2 separate regions of the Homo sapiens genome follow, and region 1 is linked to region 2. Evidence: promoter capture Hi-C in 16 types of primary human blood cells and fetal thymus (Javierre and others, 2016). All regions are on one chromosome and are shown on one strand. The core of a region is centred on a gene start or on the middle of the fragment in contact, and the rest is flanking DNA. Distances in the headings are between cores, read along the strand shown.

Region 1 (3,919 bases), core at 958-3,457, 620 kb after region 2:
CATGCAGGTTGAGCCACAGGCGAGCTTCTAAAGGCTTCCAGAGATGGAAGGAGCCTCCTTCAATTGACCTATTCTGAAGCGCGGAGACTAGCCCAAGGCCCCCAGAGGTGCAGGACAGCACTGCCACTCACACCCAGGCATCCTGATTTTTAACCTACTTCCCTCCGTATATACCAGTGTGTCTCAAACATTTTGGTGTCTGAATTATCTTCTATTCTTAAATTTACGAGGATGCCAAGGAGGTTATGTTTCTGTGAGTTTTATCTATCCTTATTGACTTTACTGGGAATTAAAACGAAAATATGTACTTATTTATTTTAAAAAACAATAATAAACCATTACATGTTGACATACAAATATATTTATATGAAAAGTAACTGTTTCCCAAAACAAAGAGAAATGAGTGAGAAGAGCAGCTTTGTTTCTACATTTTGGCAAATCTTTTTAATAGAATATCTCCGATCTGCTTATGCATTCAATCTATTGCAATATGTCGTTTTGCTTGGAGAAAACCCAGCCTCACACAGATGTGTAGCTGGACAACTATTTCAATAGCCTTTTTGGATAATTTTGAAAAATCTTTGATATTACACCAAAATTCATCAAGTAGCCAATTCTTAGAATCTGAAATCATATGAAGAATTTTTCATATTTTGTTACATTAAAAATCCATTGGGCTATCATGCACTTTGAACAGACCTTTTACCCATGCAAGATTGTTGTAAGGCTATACACTGGTCATTTGGATCTATTGGTTTATTTGGTTATGCAGATCATCCAAATGTTGACACATTTTATGAGATGACATTTACAAATCACATTCATTTATATCACCATTGATCTCACTAGAAAAAAATTTAAATATTGGGAAACTTTCAAGCTTACAGTGGTGGAAACAACTTGGCAAAATTCTGATTTTCACTTGAAAGCTGAAATGTTATCATTGGCAAGCAATAATAGCAGTTATTTTACTAGAAGTAGCAAGTTCCCTTTGTTCATTTTTGAGAAAACATCGGCCAAATACCCAAGTCAGAATAGCTCTAGTTTGTCTGTTGTCATTCTTTGTGGTAAATACCACATTCCATTTTAAAAAACCAGCTAGCTTAATGCATAACACAAACAATCACACCAGTGCTTCCCCCTGGGGTTGCCACTGAACTTGGTCATCAGCAGTAGTAACTTATGTGTCCTTCCCATTTATTTACACTATTAAAAAGACATACACTCAAAGATACAAAGATTTGGTAAAATTAATAATTTTACTGTGGCATCAAGAACATTCTTAATGAAACTGGCAAATTTTTTTTAACTGCAAAGTCCCCCCAAAATTCAAAGACTACTAGTGCATGGTGATGTCCCTGCCTTGATTCTCAGTAAGACACCCGCAGTTTACCCATCAAGCTTTTGCACCCTCAGTGCAAATGTCAACTGTGAAAAAGGAAAATAGCATCTTAGTAATCTTAGTATTACTTTGAAAATAGTTTTGACATGGAAAATTCCCTAAAAGCTTCTTTAAAGAAGAAAATAAAAATCATCCCTAACCATCCTAAGATACCCACTGCAAATATGTGCATGTGTGAGTACATCCACATGTGTTTAGAAAAATGTATCATACCAGACTGGCAAGGCCATCATAATTTTAATGTTTGCATAGTATCCTATTGTAGGGATGAATATGAGTGGAGGAGGGGACACTGCTTGCTTATTTTGTTTTATGTTTAATTGACCCTACACTGAAGGGCTTATCCAGATCTTCAGTGTGTCCTGCTTTAAGCAAAGTCCCTCGGAGCCACTATTATGTGGCCGTGGGTAATTTCCTTACAGAGATTCTGGCCCCAAAAGGGTGGTGAAGGGGAGAGCTTGACACAAGCAGCTCGCTTGGTCCATGCATTAGTTCAACCAGAGAGAGGGAGCAGTCTATCCATGACGTTGCTGTCAAAGGGAGCCCATGAAAGAAGTTATGTACCCCATAATTTCATCCACAGCATGGGGAGCTATCTACAGGTTGCTATGTCTGTTTCTATCCTTCTATTACTTAATTTAAATTTAGTAGATTTCATTCTGAAATGTGCCTGTCCTCCTTTGTCCACCTCTAGTCTGGTCATCATTTGACTGTAGATCCCACGTCAACACAGTAGAGAGAAGGGCTGGGAAGCTGTCCAGCCCCAGCATTCCTCAGCACAGTGATTCACAGAGCAGAAGGCGAAAAAGCAAGAGTGCAGATCGCGGTGGGATTCCAGGAGCTCTCACAAACAACCCCGCTCGGACCCACTCACATGCAACCCACGGGCAGGTGGCAGAGGAATCGGAAAAGCAGAAGGCTGGAATCGCCACAAAGCCAGGGCAGCACTGGTTCCAGTTTCAGATCATTTTCAGAAACAAAAACTCTTCCAGCACTCTGAAAATTTTCACTTAGAAAAACAAAAGCCAGGAGTTGTAGGTGGGGAAGTTGGAAGACTTTATTTAGTTTTATTCCTCTCAAGTACTGTGCAAAGTATTCAGTGAATACTTTCCTAGAGTTCACTAATGGGAAGAAAAAGACCCTACGGCAGGCACTGCCTTTTATGAGAAAGTGGCATTGGCATCAGAATACCTCGCATAAACCTGAGCCAAGCATTGGGATGATGTATCTACCAAAAAGTCACAAAGTAATGTGATCCCCAACTTTTCTTCCTTTACCCCTGAAGTAAGAGAACAATATATACACTAAATAGCATCATAAAACTGGTACCCTCGTTGGAATAGTATCTGACGATCATTGTCTGCTTCTTGGATTTCTACAAACCAATAACCTAAAAGCCAGTTTCAAGTGTAAAAATGCCTGCAAAGGAGGTGGTAACAAGGGCCGCCAAAGGCTTAGGAATGAAAACCTCGCCACAAACTTGTCTCTCTCTGCAGGAAGCTTGCAAGAAATCTGACAGGAGCGCGCTAGCATTTTCTGAAAAGCATTGCTCTCAAAGGAAGCATCCATCCTGGCTGCAGCCTCAGCCATTGGGGAAGGGCGAGTTTCTCTGGAATCAGCTTTCTCATTTCCCTCTCCCTCCTCTCAAGACAAACATTTTCTCCCAGCTTGAACGTTCCCCCCGGGCGCGCGGGCCTCCTGCCGCCTGGAGCCGAGCTGGCACTGGAGCGCTTCTCCTCTGGAGCGCAGAGGCACCCGACGCCCTGCGGCAGCTCGCAGCCTTTCCCCCACGACCTTCTAGAACAGCCCTGCTCTGCCTCCCTCCGGTCTCCCGAGTGCGCCCGTCATCCTGCCTCGCGAGAGGTGAACGCGGAGAAAGTAGGATGACCACCTACGCTCCCGAGAAATTCTGGGCAAAGAAAGGCATTACCCCAGTCCGCACGCTGAAAGTCGCCTTTCTTTTCCTTTTTTCCCCGCTGTGCCTGAATCTCCCGGGACACTTAGACGGCTGGAGCCTCCCGACTCCAAGGCGGGCGACGGCAAAGTTAAACGCCAGCGCGCTGCGGTCCCCGGGCACCGAGGCGTCCCCGCTCCCGCCACCCACACAGGGCGCCAAGTGCCCCGACCCGCGAGTGACGAGGACGCACAGGCTAGTGACACGACCCGTAGCCAGCACTGAGCGGGACGACGGGGCCCGAGCGCAGGAGGGTGCGCGGGGAGCTGAGGAGCGCCGGGGGCCCGGGCGCGGCGCGTACCTGAGGCCGCCGCCGAGGAGGCGACGGGGAGCAGCGCGGCCAAGAGCAGCAGCGCCGCCCAGGACAGCCGGCGCGGCGCGCGCAGGGTCGCCCCGGCCTCGGGGGCCATCGAGAGCCCGGGGTGGGCCGGGGCTGGGTGCTTGCGGCTGGCAGGGGGGCGCTGGCCGGAGTCTGGGGAGTGCCGAGGCGCCGCCGTCGGGTCCCCGCCGCCGTCCGTCTGTTCTGCGCGCTCTGCGCGGTGCCCGCCGCGCCCCTGCCCCGC
Region 2 (3,356 bases), core at 746-3,245:
TCGGGCTCAAGCTTTAAATCCTCTCGTAGTTTCCCACTATAATGAAAAGAAAGTCTAAAGTGCTCATCTTGACTTACAAAGCTAATCATCTGTCGCCTCCTTACCCCTCCATGTTCATCTTGGGCCATTCATCCTCTGCCCATTGAGCTTCAGATCCACAAGCCCTTCAGTTCCTCACCCCAGCAGTTTCCTTTGCTAGGACTGCTCTTTCTGGCAGATGACTAGGCTTCTTCCTCTTTCAGATCTCACCTTCTTAAATGTCACCTCAGACAGGCAGGTATCCTGTCCGCTACTGTAACATCCTCTTTAAATAGCCCCCATCACACCTATTTGTTGTTTGTTCCAGCCCCTCCGCGAACCCTGCCTCTACCCGCCGCATGGCAGCTACCTGGGAGAGTGCCTGGAGTTGAATGAATGAAAATAGTCTGTAGGGTGCACTGCCCTTGTCAATCACAAGCAGATTTAATTACCTGTGCCAGAACTCACGGGAGGGAAACACCGTCCGCCAGCCCCGCTCTTTCCTGGCTACAGATAAAAGCTCCAGGTTCCGGGGGTTCCGGTTGGTGAATTCTGGGGCGACAGCTTCATTTTCCACAGGGTCCACTTCAGGTTTCGCTGCCGGCTCGGAGCTGGTTGACAGGGCTGCGAACCTGCACCCTGGGCAACGGGAAAAACCGCACAGGGCTTAAAAATGACGGATATGGACAGCGCACGAACCCGCTCTAACGTCTATCCGCTTTTACACCCCCAATCTTTAGGCCCGAGGGGACGAAAAATACGTATGCCCACAGGGTGGAGTCAGCACTGACCCCGTCCTTAACTTCCTACTGTGGTCTTCGCAGTGCCGCGAGCTCTATTTCGATCCGGCACGTCGAATACAAAATAGAACCCGCACGTTCCAATGTACTGTGCAAGCCCAGGCGAGTGAGCTGGGAGAAGGGGGGCAAGACTAATTACCAGGGTTCCTGCAAACCGAGAACAACCCCCAAAACCGCGACCGAAGCGCCATCGCTGAGACGATCTCGGAAAAGCCTCGCCTCTTTTTCCTCACGGACGACTCAGTCGCTCGCCAGGAGCAGCCATATAAAGTCAGGGACAAGCCTTTGGCTGCTGTAGATCCCCAAACTCTCCACGCCAGACGCCACCGACCCGGAAGTAGCAAGTCCCCTGCCACTGAGTGGCCGAGAAGGCGATCTGTTATCCTTCATCGCCAATCATCGCTCACGTCGAGGGGCACGCAGGCCCTGGAGCCCACCAACCACCTCGTAGCTACGCCCAAGACCACGCTTGTTGCTTAAGTCCGGGGTCAAAGGCACACACCCCACAAAACCATGTTTGGGTTTTCTACTCGGAGAGCTTGGGCGGTCATCGACTGGTCCACACACACCCCACCTGGGCACCGCGTAGGAATAAGGCAGGGCAAGATGCAGTTTTCTCCTTAAAAAGGGTGGTTGTCTTCCTCGAACCAAAAATTTTCCCGTATGGCCCGCTGGAAAAACTGCCCCGTCCCACCCAGGTTCGCGCCCTTAAACTTACACTCCTGAGGCCTGGAGCAAAGCCGGCCGATCTGCCTCACGCTCCCCGAGCAGGGACAAGGAAAAGACACTAAACCTAAAACGCACGACTCGCTCAGAACCCCAACTCTAACTTGGAGAAGGGCCCGCCCCTCCAGTTACACCCCAGCTCCAAGCTCCACCCTTCTTACAACCTTTTCTAGAAGGCACTAGAATGGCCCACTGCGTCTGCGCAACATCGTTTGAGGCGAAGGTTCAACCTCTTCCCAGCGGTCCAACATCCGACTTCCGTTCTCCGCTTTCGCGCCCTTCCCATCGGCTATCTAATTGGACAAAAATGCCGACCCCGCCCCTTCCCCGGAGCCTCACTTCCGTCACAGTCCTGTTTCTCTCCCTGTTGTCCCTGCCTCTTTTTCCTTCCCGCCGTGCCCCGCGGCCGGGCCGGGGCAGCCGGGAAGCGGGTGGGGTGGTGTGTTACCCAGTAGCTCCTGGGACATCGCTCGGGTACGCTCCACGCCGTCGCAGCCACTGCTGTGGTCGCCGGTCGGCCGAGGGGCCGCGATACTGGTTGCCCGCGGTGTAAGCAGAATTCGACGTGTATCGCTGCCGTCAAGATGGAGGGGCCTTTGTCCGTGTTCGGTGACCGCAGCACTGGGGAAACGATCCGCTCCCAAAACGGTAAGGGCGGGCCGGGCCTGGGTCGGGTTTGCGGCCGGGGAGGGCCGAGTCCCACCGCGACCGGACCCCGGCTGCCCTCGTTTCTCTCCTTTACCTCCGCAGAAAGGGCCTCGGGGCCCCGCAGCCGGACCCAGCCCACCCGCCGTTCTCTGGGGCAGGGCGCTGTGGCCCCACTTTTCCCACAGCGAGGAGGAGCCCCGCCGCGCGCGGCAGGGTTTTGAGACCGGCAACGCGTGGATGTGGTGTCCGGGGCGGCGTTGGAAACGCGCCCTCCGCGGGAAAGCGGGCCTCCCGGGCTCGCACGTGCGGGCCACGCCTCGCACCCCCTTTTGTTTCAGGGCGACCCCCTGAGTGTCCATGTTAAACGCCAGGTTTTATTTTAGGACCATTTACCAGAAAAAGAGTAGGTCCATCCGCGCGCCCTCGGATGAGCCCGGTGCCCTGTCCGCCCGCAGCTGCAGTCGAGGTCGGGCGTCCGGCGTCCAGCCGTATCCGGGTTGACAGCTTCTTACAGTAGAGTTAGCCCAGGAAACGCCACTCGAGTGCATTGACCCCAGGAGACGGCAGCGCTAACTTAGCAGAGCGTTTGCTGTCAGGCCTTTGGATACCTACAGAGCTTACTGTTTCTTGATAGATTCCTAATTTTTTTCGTAAACAAATCTGAAAGTCACCACCTTCCCCGTTGACTACCGATTTCTCTCCTCACAGATAAAGAGAGTTTTAATGAGCAAAAAACTTGCAGAATCTGAAGGAAAAGGCTGGTATAGCTGTACGAAGTGGCAGAGCATGAAATTGGTGGTTATTACTTTTTTTTTTTTTCCCCGCCATCAGATTCCACCCCGCATCAAAGCTGTGCCAAATAGGCTCGCTTTGTTTAGGGACAGGGTCCCACCTGTCGCCCAGACGAGAGTGCCATCATAGCTCACTGCATTCTCCAAGCACAGGTCCGCGCCGCCGCATCCGGCTTTGTTTTTATTTTTTGTAGAAATGGGTTTCGCTATGTTGCCCAAAGGGGTCTCAAACTCCTGGCATCAAGCGATCCTCCTGCCTCGGCCTCGCAGTGTTGGGATTACACCTGTGAGCCACAGTGTCTGGCCCCATTTACACTCTTAGTAGGTGGTTTTTAAATAATTAACACAGATTTGTAGATTTGGGAAATACGGG

Evidence for each region. The method cuts DNA at HindIII sites, captures the fragments that hold promoters and counts their contacts. A CHiCAGO score of 5 or more calls a contact.
Region 1: a fragment that was not itself captured here is called in contact with the fragment with the promoter of TCP1 in region 2 in 7 of 17 cell types (megakaryocytes, total B cells, M0 macrophages and 4 more); the score reaches 12.4 in megakaryocytes.

Annotation. Positions count from the first base shown.
Region 1 is chr6:159,169,444-159,173,362 of GRCh38, reverse strand. FNDC1 (fibronectin type III domain containing 1) reads right to left here. Exons shown (of 23, transcript NM_032532.3): 1 at 3,658-3,919. The coding sequence starts at 3,766. FNDC1-AS1 (FNDC1 antisense RNA 1) reads left to right here and starts at 3,356. Exons shown (of 4, transcript NR_121668.1): 1 at 3,356-3,551. RefSeq lists an enhancer at 2,609-3,108 and a silencer at 3,915-3,919. The HindIII fragment of the contact is 1,395 bases long and covers 1,510-2,904 here.
Region 2 is chr6:159,788,241-159,791,596 of GRCh38, reverse strand. It overlaps TCP1 (t-complex 1), which reads left to right and starts at 1,995. Exons shown (of 12, transcript NM_030752.3): 1 at 1,995-2,192. The coding sequence starts at 2,129. It overlaps MRPL18 (mitochondrial ribosomal protein L18), which reads right to left and starts at 1,130. Exons shown (of 4, transcript NM_014161.5): 1 at 958-1,130; 2 at 471-657. The coding sequence starts at 1,009. RefSeq lists enhancers at 943-1,002, 1,033-1,212, 1,469-2,132, 2,133-2,797. The HindIII fragment of the contact is 4,019 bases long and covers 14-3,356 here.